2 separate regions of the Homo sapiens genome follow, and region 2 is linked to region 1. The links are contacts of gene promoters, found by promoter capture Hi-C in human tissues and cell types (Jung and others, 2019). All regions are on one chromosome and are shown on one strand. Each heading gives the region's core, a stretch centred on a gene start or on the middle of the fragment in contact. The rest is flanking DNA. Distances are from core to core; before and after follow the strand shown. Region 1 holds the start of NKX3-1 (NK3 homeobox 1). Region 2 has its middle 8.3 kb from the start of LOXL2.

Evidence for each region. Contacts are between HindIII fragments. The study calls those that stand out against the background at their distance.
Region 2: a contact is called between a fragment that was not itself captured here and the fragment with the promoter of NKX3-1 in region 1, in 2 of the 25 tissues and cell types used here (mesendoderm cells and thymus).

Annotation. Positions count from the first base shown.
Region 1 is chr8:23,680,520-23,687,649 of GRCh38, forward strand. NKX3-1 (NK3 homeobox 1) reads right to left here and starts at 2,419. Exons shown (of 2, transcript NM_006167.4): 1 at 2,085-2,419; 2 at 1-1,120. The coding sequence starts at 2,370. The coding sequence ends at 702. All of the region lies in intron 3 of LOC107986930 (a long non-coding RNA gene), which reads left to right. RefSeq lists silencers at 2,001-2,050, 2,091-2,600. The HindIII fragment of the contact is 20,085 bases long and covers 1-7,130 here.
Region 2 is chr8:23,408,813-23,415,968 of GRCh38, forward strand. No RefSeq gene overlaps it. Among named protein-coding and RNA genes, the nearest start is that of LOXL2, 8.3 kb to the left of the region's middle. RefSeq lists a silencer at 1,524-1,818 and enhancers at 1,684-1,803, 7,057-7,156. The HindIII fragment of the contact is 5,535 bases long and covers 3,114-7,156 here.

The DNA of each region.
Region 1 (7,130 bases), core at 1,169-3,668:
ATACAGCTTGTCTTAAAATCACAGCGAGTGCATCTTGTTCTATTTGGGCCACCCTGTAAATACTTAAGTTGGCATACCATTTTAAAAGGAATAAAAAGGAATAAGAAAAGCTGATATTTTCATCTCCTCCCACCCATCTCCCCCTCCCATGCAAATATGTGCTGAGCATGAGGGCGTTCTCTTGGAGACTCTCTATTTGCCCCTCTCTTTTACAGGGACAGAGAGAGCCTTGGCCATATTCCAAGGCCAACAGGAGGCTTCTGGACTTAAGTTTAATTCAGTTGGTGACATCCTCATCCTGGTTGTCCTTTCTCCTGTTAGGTTTGCTCTTTCAGAGTTGATATTCAGTGACACAGGAGGATGGAGTTGCAGAACAGAATCCTTGGGTGTACAACTCATCCAAAATCATACAAAGTGCTGGAAAATACCACTTGATTTTCCCTCTCTCCCCTTCAAACAGGTAGCCAGAAGCAAAAAAAATGACCTACAGTATGCACTGGAGGAATGACTTAGGTATTAAAACTTTCACTGTCTCTGTTGTTTCATTGTCTCACCAGTGAAGAATCTGAGATTTCCACGCAAATCTCCAATAGCTTTGGTGTGCACACCTCTTGCTCCCTGACCTTGGCCCCTTGTGCTTTTCATAGAGACACCCTGGGGAAGGCAGTTTTTGATCATAATGGTTGTCACCTGAGCTGGCATTACCAAAAAGCTGGGCTCCAGCTGCCCACGCAGTACAGGTATGGGTAGTAAGGATAGCTGTTATACACGGAGACCAGGGAGGCCCGGGAGAAGGCCTCCTCTTTCAGGGCCGGCAAAGAGGAGTGCTTCTCCAAGTCTCCCAGCTCCGAGGAGAGCTGCTTTCGCTTAGTCTTATAGCGTCTGTTCTGGAACCATATCTTCACTTGGGTCTCCGTGAGCTTGAGGTTCTTGGCCAGGTGGGCCCGTTCAGGGGCCGACAGGTACTTCTGATGGCTGAACTTCCTCTCCAACTCGATCACCTGAGTGTGGGAGAAGGCAGCTCGGGAGCGCTTCTGCGGCTGCTTAGGGGTTTGGGGAAGCCTTGGAAGGGCGCCTGAAGTGTTTTCAGAGTCCAACAGATAAGACCCCAAGTGCCTTTCTGGAAAGGAGAGTGGGGAAGGAGGGATGGGAAGACAAAAGTTACATGTTAGCAGGGAAGAGAACAGAATTCAATCCACCCTTATCTCTTTAGTGAGTGAACAAACAGCCCACTGTCATCGTGGATACATTTCACTTTTTTCACATGACTAAGGAGCTCTCCGGAGTGAAGAGTGAGTAAATATGTTTATTACGCATTCATTTGCTAAGAATCATCAAGAACCCAAAGTTAGAGACGTTTCGTGGTTGAACTTTCTCCCTACTGTCTAGTAGAATTATATGGGGATTCTGGATCTGTGTGCTGAGGAGAGGCGGGAGAGGGAGGCAGGGAAAATGCCGTGGAACAAGATACCCGGGAAGGCCAGACCAAAAGACATCCGGTGTTAGGATCCAGGTGGGCAAGAGAGGGCTTGTGCCACTGGAGACGCAGAGGCAGGCTCATTCTGGGCTTTAATTCCCTCTTCGCTAAACGAGGCGTTCGGTCGCCTCATCAGAAGTGACAGGAAAGAAAATAAGTGGACTCTCTCTCCTGGACACCGGAGGGAACCCCGAATATACCGCTTTACTGCCCACGGGATTGGGAAGCACACGGAGGCTTTGCTGGTCAACCCCTGCTTTGTCACTGTTAATAAGTTATTATTAGTTCTCATAACTACCGGGGGGCTGGCGCCGATCGCGGGTGGCGCGGGGCGGGATCCGCTCCTGGGACGGTGGAGGGCGGTGGCGCTGCAGTCGCGCCGGCTTCTGAGCCCCAGGGAGCGGAGGGCACGGAGCCGGGCGAGTCCTGCGGTGTCAGAATCCTGCGCCGCCCTGACGCTGGGGCTCAGGGTTCATTCCGGGGGCGCGCGCGTGGCTGCGGAGGCGGGAAGGTCCCTCTGCCTGTCGCCGCGGAGCCCCGCGTCCCTGCACCCCGAGCTCTGGGGGTCCGCCTTGGGCTGCCCCCCTTCCCCGGCCTCGCCGCTTACCTGGCTCGGTCTCTGCCAGCGTCTCGGCCTCCTCCGGCGCGGCGCGGGGCCCGGTGCTCAGCTGGTCGTTCTGCGCCCCGGCGCGGCTGCGTCCTCCCTCTGGCTCTGGCTCTGGCTCCGGCTCCGGGTCGCGCTGTCTCTGGCTGCTCGTGCGGCCGCCTTGCCGCTGCGCGCCGTCCCGCAGGATGTCCTGGATGAGGAAGGACGTGAGCGGCTTGGACGGGGTCGGCGGCGCGGCCCCCTCCGCTTTCGCCTCCCCGGGCCGCGGCTCCGGAACCCTGAGCATCCCGGCGGCCCCGCCTTGGCCTGAATGCACCCGCCCGGCCCGCACCGCTTTCACTTTCCGCCTCCCGGCTCGCTTATAGCCCAGGGGAGCGGGCCGCGCCGCCCTCCCATTGGCCGCGGGACGGGCCGCGCCGCGGATTGGCCGCCCTGAGCCCCAGGTGACCCCGCCGATCTGCGAGCCCTGAGCACTGCCCCGCTCCGCTCCTCCCTAGGGGATTCCTTCCCCAGTTCCCTCTCCTTCCCCAATTCCCTCTCCTTCCCCAATTTCCTCTCCTTCTCCAGCTCTCCTCCCTCCGCCCTGAGCCGTTTTCCCAGGCCAGGAGCGCACCCCAAAGCGGGGCTCCTCTGCCCCAACCCACCCGCAACAGAGAGAAGCTCCTGGGGATGGGACGATCAAGACAAACAGTCCAGTTAGCTCTTCAGGACCGTCAGAGCCAATTACAGGGGATGAGCACGCAGTCACTGCAGCCGCGCGGTACCGTGAGAGTTCTGGGTGCTCTCTCTCTCTGGGAGAGATGGTGCAAACTCAGATCTGCAATATCTACGACCTCAAAGAGGCATGACAAGTAGGTGCAGCCAGACCCCAGGCTGAAAGAAGGAAAACACCTTTGCCAAAGCCTTTTCCCGTTGCAGAAGTGGTTTTCTTTGGTGGTTCCTTTATCCGCAATAACCTGTTAACTTTCCTTCCTCCCCAGACACATGACATACCATCCTTTTGAAAAGTTTCCAGACGGATGGAAGGCGTTTTAGGCCAGGACAAATGCAAAAACTGCATTTAAAAAAGTAGTTCAAAAGAACATCAGCATACTCTTTTTGCAGATTACCAACTGTTAACATGTAACCCATTGGCTAAACAATGGGTTAGCCAGATTGGTCCAACCGGTACTGTGACTGGACTGGACGGTACCGTGACAACAGACGAAAGTGGAACAGAGATGATGGAAGTATTTTCTTTCCTTGTCTTTTCTCTTCTTTTTTTTACGGACAGGGTCTCCCTCTGCCGCCCAGGCTGGAGTGCAGTGATGCCATCATAACTCACTGCAGCCTCGATTTCCTGGATTCAAGTGATCCTCCTGCCTTGGCCTCTCAAAGTGCCAGGACTACAGGCATGAGTCTCAGTGTCAGGTCGATGATGGAAGTATTGAATTAATGTTAAATTTACTGAAATTGCACATTGTACTGTCAGTGTACAAGAGAATATTTTTAGGAAATAAACACTGAAGTAAGTAGGAGCAAAGGCACAAGATTTATGAAACTTACATCAAATGGTTCTGAAACAAGGATGCAGATTGATAGATCCCACGCCATAAAGCCGATGGGTTAAATGGTAACAGTTGGTAATCTGGAAAAAGGGTAGGCTGATGTTTTTTAGAACCATTTTTTTAATGCAACTTTTTTGTCTGTCCTGGTCTAAGACGGCTTCTATTCAACTGGCAACTTTTCAAAAGGATGGTATGTCATGTGTCTCTGGAGGAAGGAAAGTTAATAGGTTATTGCTGATAAAGCGACCGCCAAAGAAAACTACCTGTGCAACGGGAAAGACTTTGGCAAAGCTGGTTTTCTTCTCTCATCTTTTCAAAGTCTCTTTATATTAGAACATTCTTTAATGTTTTCTTTTGAATCATTGTAGATTCACAGGAAGTTGCAAAAATAATACCTCCAGTGTCCTCCAAAGACATCTATACAACTGTAGGACAATGTAGAAAACAGGAAATTTACGTTGGGACATTACAGTTAACTAGACTACAGACGTCATTTATTTATTTATTTAGAGATAGGGTCTTGCTCTGTTGCCCAGGCTGGAGTGCAGTGGAGAGATCATGGCTCACTGCAACTTCAACCTCCTGGGCTCAGGAGATTCTCCCACCTCAGCCTCCTGAATAGCTGGGACTACAGGTGTGTGCCACCCTGCCCAGTTAATTTTTGTAGTTTTTGTAAAGATAAGGTTTCACCCTGTTGCCCAGGCTGGTCTCAAAGCCCTGGGCTCAAACAATCCTTCCGCCTCCACCACCCAAAGTGCTGAGACTACAGGTGTGAGCCACTGTGCTGGGCCTTATTGTGGTTTAAATTTTTAATTTGCATTTCACAAATGCCTAGAGATGTTGAATACCTTGTCATGTGCTTGTTTGCCATCCATATTTCCTCTTTGGTGAAATATCTGTTCAAGCCTTTTGCTCATATTATAATTGAATTTTTCTTTCTTTTATTTTTTAACCATTGAGTTATGATAGTTCTTTATATATTGCTGTTTGTAAGTCTTTGTTTGGTAGGTTATTTGCAAATATTATCTCCCAGTCTGTAGCTTGTGTTTCCATCCCTCTAACAGGATCTTCAACAGAACAAAAGATTTTAATTTCATTGAAGATCAATTTATGAATTTTTGAATTTTACAGAATGTGATTTTGATGTCCTGCCTAAGAACTCTTTGTTTAGTCCTAATACTGAAGATTTGCTCCTATGTTATCTTCTAAAAGTTTTATGCTTTACTCTTCAATCCATGATTCCTTCAGAATTAATTTTTGTATATAGTGTGAGGTTTAGATTGAGATGGCCTCCTTTTATTTCTAAAATTGAGAGTTGGGTATGAATTATTTAATAACAAGTGCTGCCATTTGGAAAAGATAAAGTCCTATTCTTATGACAAAATAAATTCCAGACAGCTCAAAGATGTAAAACACAAACGAGCACGTGAAAAAAATATTTTAACTACACTTCATCAGTGAAGGAATGCAAATCAAAATCACATTGAGACGAGCCTTTTCCACCTTTCAGATTGACAAAGGTTAAAAAAAATGGATAATGTCCAGTGTAAGTGAGAGTGTGGAGGAACAGCTGCTCTCATACAGCCATGCACTGCATCGTGACGTTTGATCAGTGACAGACAGCATATATGACGGTGGTTCCATAAGGTTATGATACTGTATTTTTACTGTACCTTTTTATGTTTAGATATGTTTACATGCACAAATTCTTACCATTGTATTACCTTTGCTTACAGTATTCAGTACAGTAACATGCTGTACATGTCTGTAGCCTAGGAGCAATAGGGCATACCATGTAGCCTAGGTGTGTAGTAGACTACATCCATCTAAGTTTGTGTAAGTAGCTCTATGATGTTTGCACAGCAATGAAATTGCCTAACATTGCATCTCTCAGAACATATTCTTGTCCCTAAGGATGCATGACTGTTTTTGGATGACAACTTGGGAATATTTGTCAAAATTAAAACTGAGCATATCCTTTGACACAGCTATTCTGTGTTTGGCAATGTGCCCTAGAAGTGCACAAATACACAATGTATTGACTTGGGAACATATCTTCAATTTGGTCAGAGACTGGTTCAAGCTGCAAAGCATGTTATAGATGAAACCCATTGTATAAAACAGCACTATAAGTTACCTATATAATGTTTTTCATTTGAACACTTTAACATACAGAATATATCAGGAACAAGATTTATACATATGTATTCTTTTTTTCCATAGAGTAGTTACCTCTGCTCAGTGAGATGGAGACAGTAGGTTGGGAGAGGGACAGGAGGATAGTGGAACAGGGTGTATTTCCTTGTACTCATTGATAATTTTAAAAAATGAAAAATATCAAGTTGGAGCTGAGCCTGGACTGCCCTCCTCCACCGCGTCCTCCTCAGGCCTGTGAGTGGGGCCACAGCTCGTGGTCCTCGGCCTCACCTCACTGCATCTTTTCTCCCCTTGTGCTTTGTATTTGGGGGTGTGGATGGCTCATCTTCTTTATGAGACTATGAGCTCCCTGAGAAGGGACTGTATCCTCCTCATATTTGTACCATCTCTAAAGTCTGGCTTAGTTCTCGGCATACAGAAGGCGCTCCATAAGTGCTTGCTGGCTCAATGTCCAGCTCCAGTTGTTATGACACATCTCACTGGCTAGCGGAATTATCCATAAGGGGCCAAAGGACCCCCAGGCAAATCACAGTGGAAGGCTCGTCCTCCTCCCCTTGCTGTGTTTATGCAGTTTAAACCGGGTGAAAATGTGCAAGGCAATCTGGAGACACTCAGGGGCTGCAGCCCAGAACAATGCCCCCTTCCAGCGATGACCAACCCCTAGTCCCCAGATTCTGTGAATATGCTATGTAAATAGACAGCGAAAGTTAATGCTGCAGATGGAATTAGGTTTGCTGGTCCGCTGATCCTGAGATGGGAAGGTTATTCTGGATTATCCAAATGGGCCTGTTGTGTCACAGGGGTCTTTATCAGTACAAGTATGAGGCCAGAGAATCAGAGTCAGACAAGATATGACAACTGAAGCAAGGCTAGAAAGAGTCAACTGTGGGAAAGACTCAACTGGCCCTTGCTGGCTTTGAGGGTGCAAGGAGGCCAGGAGCCAACTGATGCAGGCAGCAGGGAAAGAAAAGAAGTGGATTCTCTCCTAGAGCCACCAGAAGGAACACAACCCTGATGACACCTTGATATTAGCCCAATAAGCCAGTGTGGGCTTCTGATCTCCAGAACCATAGCATAATAAATGTGCATTGTTTTAAGCCACTAACTTTATGGTAATTTGCCACAGCAGCACTAAGAAACTAATATAGGGGCACTAGTAAAAGAGCAGCAGTGATGAAGGAGGCCCTACCAGCTTGAACTTGACTGCAGATGTGAACTTTGGATCCTTTTTTCCTTTTAAGTTATAAATATCTCTTTAGACCCATGATCCCATCCCTTCATTAAAACTGTTTGTGTGTGTGTGTGTGTGTGTGTGTGTGTGTGTGTGTGTGTCTGTGTGTGT
Region 2 (7,156 bases), core at 4,631-7,130, 270 kb before region 1:
AAAAAGCTGTCCGGGTGCAGTGGCTCATGCCTGTTATCCCATCACTTTGGGAGGCCAAGGCAAGCGGATGACCTGTGGTCAGGAGTTCGAGACCAGCCTGGCCAATACGGTGAAACCCTGTCTCTACTAAAAAATATAAAAATTAGCCCAGGCATGGTGGCGGGCGCCTGTAATCCCAGTTACTTGGGAGGCTGAGGTGGGAGAATCACTTGAACCCGGGAGGTGGAGGTTGTAGTGAGACGAGATTGTGCCACTGCACTCCAGCCTGGGTGACAGAGTGAGACTCCATCTCAAAAAAAAAAAAAACAAAAAAAAACAAGCCTAACTGTAAAACATCCTCAGTCAGGTGCTTCAGGAAGTATCCAGAAGAAGGCATTGTTATCCTAGGAGATGACAGCTCCATGTCTGTTAACGCCCCTGAAGACCTTCCTGGACCAAGATGTGGAGGTGGAGGACTGACATTGATGATCCTGACCCTGTGCGGGCCTAGGCTAATGTGCGTGTTTGTGTCTTCGTCTTTAACAAAAAAGTTTACAACACAGACAAAAGTAAATAATTTTTAAAATAGAAAAAAAGCTTACAGAATACTAAAGAAATTTAAAAATTTGGTACAGCTGTACAAAGTGTTTGTGTTTGAAGCTAAGTGTTATTACAAGAGTCAAAAAATGTTTTAAAAACTAAAAAGTTTATAAAGTAAAAGAGTTACAGTAAGCTCAGGCTAATTTATTATTGAAAAAATAAGTATTATGTATAAATTGAGTGTAGCCTAAGTGTGCAGTGTTTATAAAGCCCACAGCAGTGTACAGTGTACATTCACTCACCACGCACTCCCTGACTCAGCCAAAGCAACTTCCAGTCCTGCAAGCTCCCTTCATGGGAAATGCCTTCCCTAAACCGGTCTATCTTTTTTGTTTGTTCTTTGTTTTTTGTTTTTGAGACGGAGTCTGGCTCTGTTGCCCAGGCTGCAGTGACGCGATCTTCGCTCACTGCAAGCTCCATCTCCCAGGTTCACCCCATTCTCCTGTCTCAGCCTCCGGAGTAGCTGGGACTACAGGCGCCCGCCACCACGTCCGGCTAATTTTTAGTATTTTTAGTAGAGACGAGGTTTCACCGTGTTAGCCAGGATGGTCTCGATCTCCTGACTTCGTGATCCGCCCACCTCGGCCTCCCAAAATGCTGGGATTACAGGCGTGAGCCACCGTGCCTGGCCTTATCATTTTTTTAAATTGTATCTTTTCTATGTTTAGATATGTTTAGATACCCAAATACTTACCACTGTGTTACAAATGCCTGCAGTATTCAGAACAGTCATATGCTATACAAATCTGTAGTGCAGGAGCAACAGTCTATCCCATATACCCTAGGAGTGTAGTAAGCTATATCACCTAGGGTTGCATAAGTACATTCTGTGATGTTTGCACAATGACAAAATCGCCTAATGACGAATTTTTCAGAATGTATTTCCTCGTGTCATTAAGCAATTAACGTTGGTATATGTCAAGGGGTGGGTGTTCGATCTGGCCTTGGGAAGGGGATGGTCACATAGATCACATATTCCAGTGTTCCTGTGTTGGCCAGATATCTATCAGGTCCTATGATGTGGCTTCCGTGTTTCTCATCATTCCAAATCTGAGCATTCTGTCACAACCACTTTTGATGAGTGTGGTTTCATCAGAGGAGAGAATGCGGAGGAGGAGGAGAACTCCCGCCTCCTCCGAGGAAGCAGCGCCCCTTAGTGGTCTGTCTCTCACACGGCAATGTGCGCTTGCTCTCTTCAGGGCCAAGCTATACCAATGGGGTTGAAACCCTAAAATTCTAGAGATTTAAAGGGTTAAGATCTAAAGAGCCGCCAGGTAACTTGAGAAATTGTGCTCCAAGCATCTTGTTTACAGACATGGAACCAGAGGCCCAGAGAGCTGTCAACCCGAGCACCTTCCCTAGGAGGCTTTAGCAGGGGTGCTGAGACCAGACCCAGACCAAGTCAGCTAAGCCCCAGGAGAGTTCCAAATCTGCTCAGAAAGTACAATTGTAAATTGCATATGTATGCAATCAGGAGTGGTTAGGACGCATCTGCCTTTTTCCCAGGAAACACAACGTTTTTACATTGAAAAGTGTAATTTCATTTAATCTATTTTCTAGGATGTAAAATTATTCTGTCAACCACAGTGTGCTAACTTCATCCCTTTCCTTTTCTTTTGCTTACTTTATTATTATTATTGTTATTACATATATTTTTTAAGACAGAGTTTCACTCTTGTTGCCCAGGCTGGAGTGCAGTGATGCAATCTCGGCTCACTGAAACCTCCACCTCCTGGCTTCAAGCCATTCTCCTGCCTCAGCTTCCTGAGTAGCTGGGATTACAGGCGTGCGTCACCACGCTCAGCTAATTTGTGTGTGTGTGTGTGTGTGTGTGTGTGTGTGTGTGTGTGTGTGTGTGTATTTTTAGTAGACATGGGGTTTCACCATGTTGGTCAGGCTGGTCTCTAACTCCTGACCTCAAGTGATTGACCTGCCTCGGCCTCCCAAAGTGCTGGGATTACAAGCATGAGCCACTGCACCTGGCCTTCTTTTGCTTAATTTATTATTAATCATCATCATTAACAGCCTGTTTGAGAGTATGAAACAGTTTACTTGGAGGAGCTCAAAGCTTCTCATAGCTTTCTCTAATGAAGAAGGCTATGCAGGGCAGTCCTGTGTATTCAGCAAAGAAGGAAATTCAGTCTGGGAGGGAGAAGCATTCCATGAGACCAGGTTACATGACTAACTTGCCCTTTCCATCACCCGCTTGAGTTGGGAGTGACTCAATCCCTCCAACAACTTCCTGTGCTTGGAGCCCATTTGGGGTCCAGTTCAGGGTGATGTCACTCAGTGCCTCCCCTGCTTTGAAGTGGGACCAGGATCAGTACAACTCAAGCAGCCTGGGAAGGTCCTAGTCATAATAATAATAAAAAAAGTGTGCTTTCCTCTCCTGGGGATTAACATATCTGAAATCTTGCAATTAGAAATTAGTTCCTTTGAGTGAACTACCAATACATGCAACACTGTTTTAGTCCATTTTCTGTTGCTATAACAGAATACCACAGACTTGGTAATTTAAAATGAACAGAAATATATTTGACTCATGGTTCTGGAGGCTGGGAAGTCCAAGGGCATGGCACTTGGAAGGGAGAGCAAGCAAGAGAGCAAGAGGGGGCCAGAGTCCCCTTTACAAAAAGCCCACTCTTGAAATAACATTAATTCATTCATGAGGACAGAGCTGTCATGACCTAGTCACCTCTTATCAGACCCCAACACCCAGCTCTGATGCACTGGGGGTTAAGTTTCCAACACATGAACTCTGGCGGACACATTCAAACCATAGCAAACAGTATGGTTGAATCTCAAACATATCAGGATGCCTGCCCCCAACTCTGACATGCACAAAAAAGCCAGCCACAAAAAGGAGACATACTGTATGATCCAGTCATAACTCTAGAAAACTCTAGAAAAGTCTAAACTAAACAGCAGGGACTGAAAGCAGATCACTGGTGGCCTGAGGCTGGAGGTGGGTGAGGTGGCCTGGGAAGGAGCATGAGGAAGCTTTCTGTAGTGATGGAAATGGCCTATTCCTTGATTGTGGTGGTGTTTATATTAGCATATGTGTTTGTCCCAAACTCATGAAACTGAACACTTAAAATGGGTGACTTTATTTTAGGTAAATTACTCCATAATAAAGTTGATTTTAAAAATTAGTCCCTTGGGTGCCCCTTTTCTATCCTCTTTCAAAATGAAAAGTTTGGTCCAGGCTTGATGGCTCATGCCTGTATGTAATCCCAGCACTTTGGGAGGCTGAGATGGGAGGATAGCTTGATCCCAGGAGGTGAAGACTGCAGTGAACTATGATGATGCCATTGCACTCCAGCCTGGGCAACGTAGCAAGATCCTATCTCTAAATAAATAAATGAAATAGGCTGGGTGCGGTGGCTCACGCCTGTAATCCCAGCACTTTGGGAGGCCGAGATGGGCGGATCACGAGGTCAGGAGATCAAGACCATCCTGGCTAACACGGTGAAACCCCATTTCTACTAAAAATACAAAACATTAGCCAGGCATGTTGGCGGGCACCTGTAGACCCAGCTACTCCAGAGGCTGAGGCAGGAGAATTGCGTGAACCCGGGAGGCGGAGCTTGCAGTGAGCCAAGATCGCGTCACTGCACTCCAGCCTGGGTGACAGAGCCAGACTCTGTCTCAAAAAAAAAAAAAAAAAAAAAAAGAAATAAAATAAAATGAAAAGTTTGGGGAAGAGTAATGCGGGGTAATATGTGGTTTAGAGTATAGTAGCTGGAGCAACACTGCCTGGGTTTGAATCGCAGCTCCACCACTTACTAACCATAACTGAGCAAGTTATTTAACTTCACTGGGCCTCAGTTTTCTCACCTGTAAAATAGGGAGGGACCTCATAGGATTCTTGTAAGGCTGAAATGAATGTATGCGTGTGAAGTGCTCAGAGCCCAATGCCTGGCAGACAGCAAGTGCCACTCAGTTTGAAACTAATTTACATGGACGTGACTTGTTAGCTTCAAATTGACAGCTTTTTTCTAGTTATGATTCTTTAAAAATTTTAAGAGCAGTTTTAGATTTACAGAAAAAAATAAACAGAAAATGTAGAGAGCTCCCATATGCCCCTCATACACAGTGAGTTTCCTCTACTATTTTCATCTTGCATTTCGGTGGCACATTTATCACAATTGATGAGCCAGTATGGACACATTATTATTAACTGAAGTCCGCAGTTTACATTAGGGCTTATTCTTTGTGTTGTACATTCAATGGGTTTTCACAAATGTATCCATCATTGCAGCATCATGCAGAATGGTTTCATTGCCCTAAAAATTCCCTGTGTTCCACCTTTTTACCCCTCCCTTCCCCATAATCCCTGGCAACCACGGATCTTTTCACCGTCTCCATAGTTTTGCCGACTCCAGAGTGTCCCATAGTTGGAGTCATACAGTATGTAGACTCTCCAAGAGGGGTCTCTTTCACTTAATTATGTACATAATTATTTATTTATGTTTAGAGACAGGGTCTCACTATATTGCCCAGTGATGCTCCCACCTCAGCCTTCTGAAGTGCTTCGATTACAGGCGTGAGCCACTGCAACCGGTCTCACTTAGCGATAGACATTTAAGATTCCACGCCTGCTCATGGCCTGATAGCTCATTTTTCTTTTTCTTTTCTTTTTTCTTTCTTTTTTTTTTTTTTAGACAGAGTCTCAAGAGCAGTGGCACGATCTTGGCTCACTGCAACCTCTGCCTCCTGGGTTCAAGTGATTCTCCTGCCTCAGCCTCCCGAGTAGCTGGGATAACAGGCGCTCACCACCATGCCCAGCGAATTTTTGTATTTTTAGTAGAAACGGGGTTTCACCATGTTGGCCAGACTGGTCTTGAACTCCTGACCTCAAATGATCCATTCACCTCGGATTACAGGCATAAGCCACCGTGCCCGGCTGAGAGCTCATTTTTCAAATTGCTGAATAATATTCCACTGTTGGGATGTACCACAGTTTATTTACCCATTCATCTATTAAAAGACATCTTGGTTGTTTCTGAGTTTGAGCTATTATGAATGAAGCTATTGTAAACATTCATGTATAAGTTTTTGTGTGGACTTAAGCTTTCAACTCCTGTGGGCAAATATCAAGGAGTACAAACACCAGTTGCTGGATCTTATTGTAAAAATACGTCTGGTTTTGTAAGAAACTGCCAAACTGGCCGGGCGTGGTGGCTCACGCCTGTAATTCCAGCACTTCGGGAGGCTGAGTCAGGCGGATCACAAGGTCAGGAGATCGAGGCCATCCTGGCTAACATGGTGAAACCCTGTCTCTACTAAAAATACAAAAAATTAGCCGGGCGTGGTGGCGGGCGCCTGTAGTCCCAGCTACTCAGGAGGCTGAGGCAGGAGAATGGCGTGAACCTGGGAGGCAGAGCTTGCAGTGAGCCAAGATTGCGCCACTACACTCCAGCCTGGGCGACAGAGTGAGACTCCGTCTCGAAAAAAAAAAAAAAAGAAGAAGAAAAAAAAGAAACTGCCAAATTGTCTTCAGAAGTGCCTGTACCATTTTGCATTCCAACTAGCAGCGAATGAAAGTTGCTGTTACTCTACATCTTTGTCAGCATTTGGTGTTGTCAGTGTTCTGGATTTTAGCCATCTATTAGAATTAGCCATTCCAACAGATGCCCAGTGGTGTCTCATTATTGTTTTAATTTGCAATTCTAATAACATATGATGTGGAGGATCTTTTCATGTCTGTGTTTGCCATCTGTACATCTTTGGTGAGGTATCTGCTCAGATCTTTTGCCCCCCACTTTTTTTTTGAGGCAGAGTCTTGCTCTGTCACCCAGGCTGGAGTGCAGTGGTGTGAGCTTGGCTCACTGCAACCTCTGCCTCCCGGGTTCAAGCGATTCTCCTGCCTTGGCCTCCTGAGTAGCTGGGATTACAGGTGCCTACCACCACACCCGGCTATTTTTTGTATTTTTGTTCATTTCTAAAAATTGGGTGTTGACTTTTAAAAGTTCTTTGTATCTTTTGGACAGAAGTCTTTTATCAGATAATGTGTTTTGCAAAATTTTCTCCAAGTTCGTGGCTTGTCTTTTCATTCTCCAAATTGTTTTCCACCAAGCATCTAGAATGCCATCATACCTCCCTGTCTACGAGTGTGTGTGTGTGTGTGTGTGTGTGTGTGTGTGTGTTTGTGTTTGTGTTTTGTGGGGTGGGAGTAGGAGAAAGAAGGACAACATTCGGAAGGAAGGGAGGGTACTAGGAATGAATAACACTTGATGTAGTCTTCAAGGGGCTTCTTATATTCTGATTTGAGAGAGACGATCTCATATTCAATAACAAGAAAAAGCAATGTGAGATTCATTGCAAATGCCTGGCACCCTGCAGCAAGCAGAGATCTGAGGGATTGGAGATGGTGGTAGGGGCTGCATGGAGTCTGGAGGGGGCGCCCATGTGCAGGAGGAGGAAATTGAGGTGAGAGGAGGAATGACCTGGAAAGAAGAGCAAAGCATTCCAGACTGGAGTAGGTGCTGGGTGGCATGAGAGAGTCACAGACCAGGGAGGCCAGCTTAATCCTTCCTCCTGCAGGAGCCCCAGGACATCTGGGAATGGGGCAGGT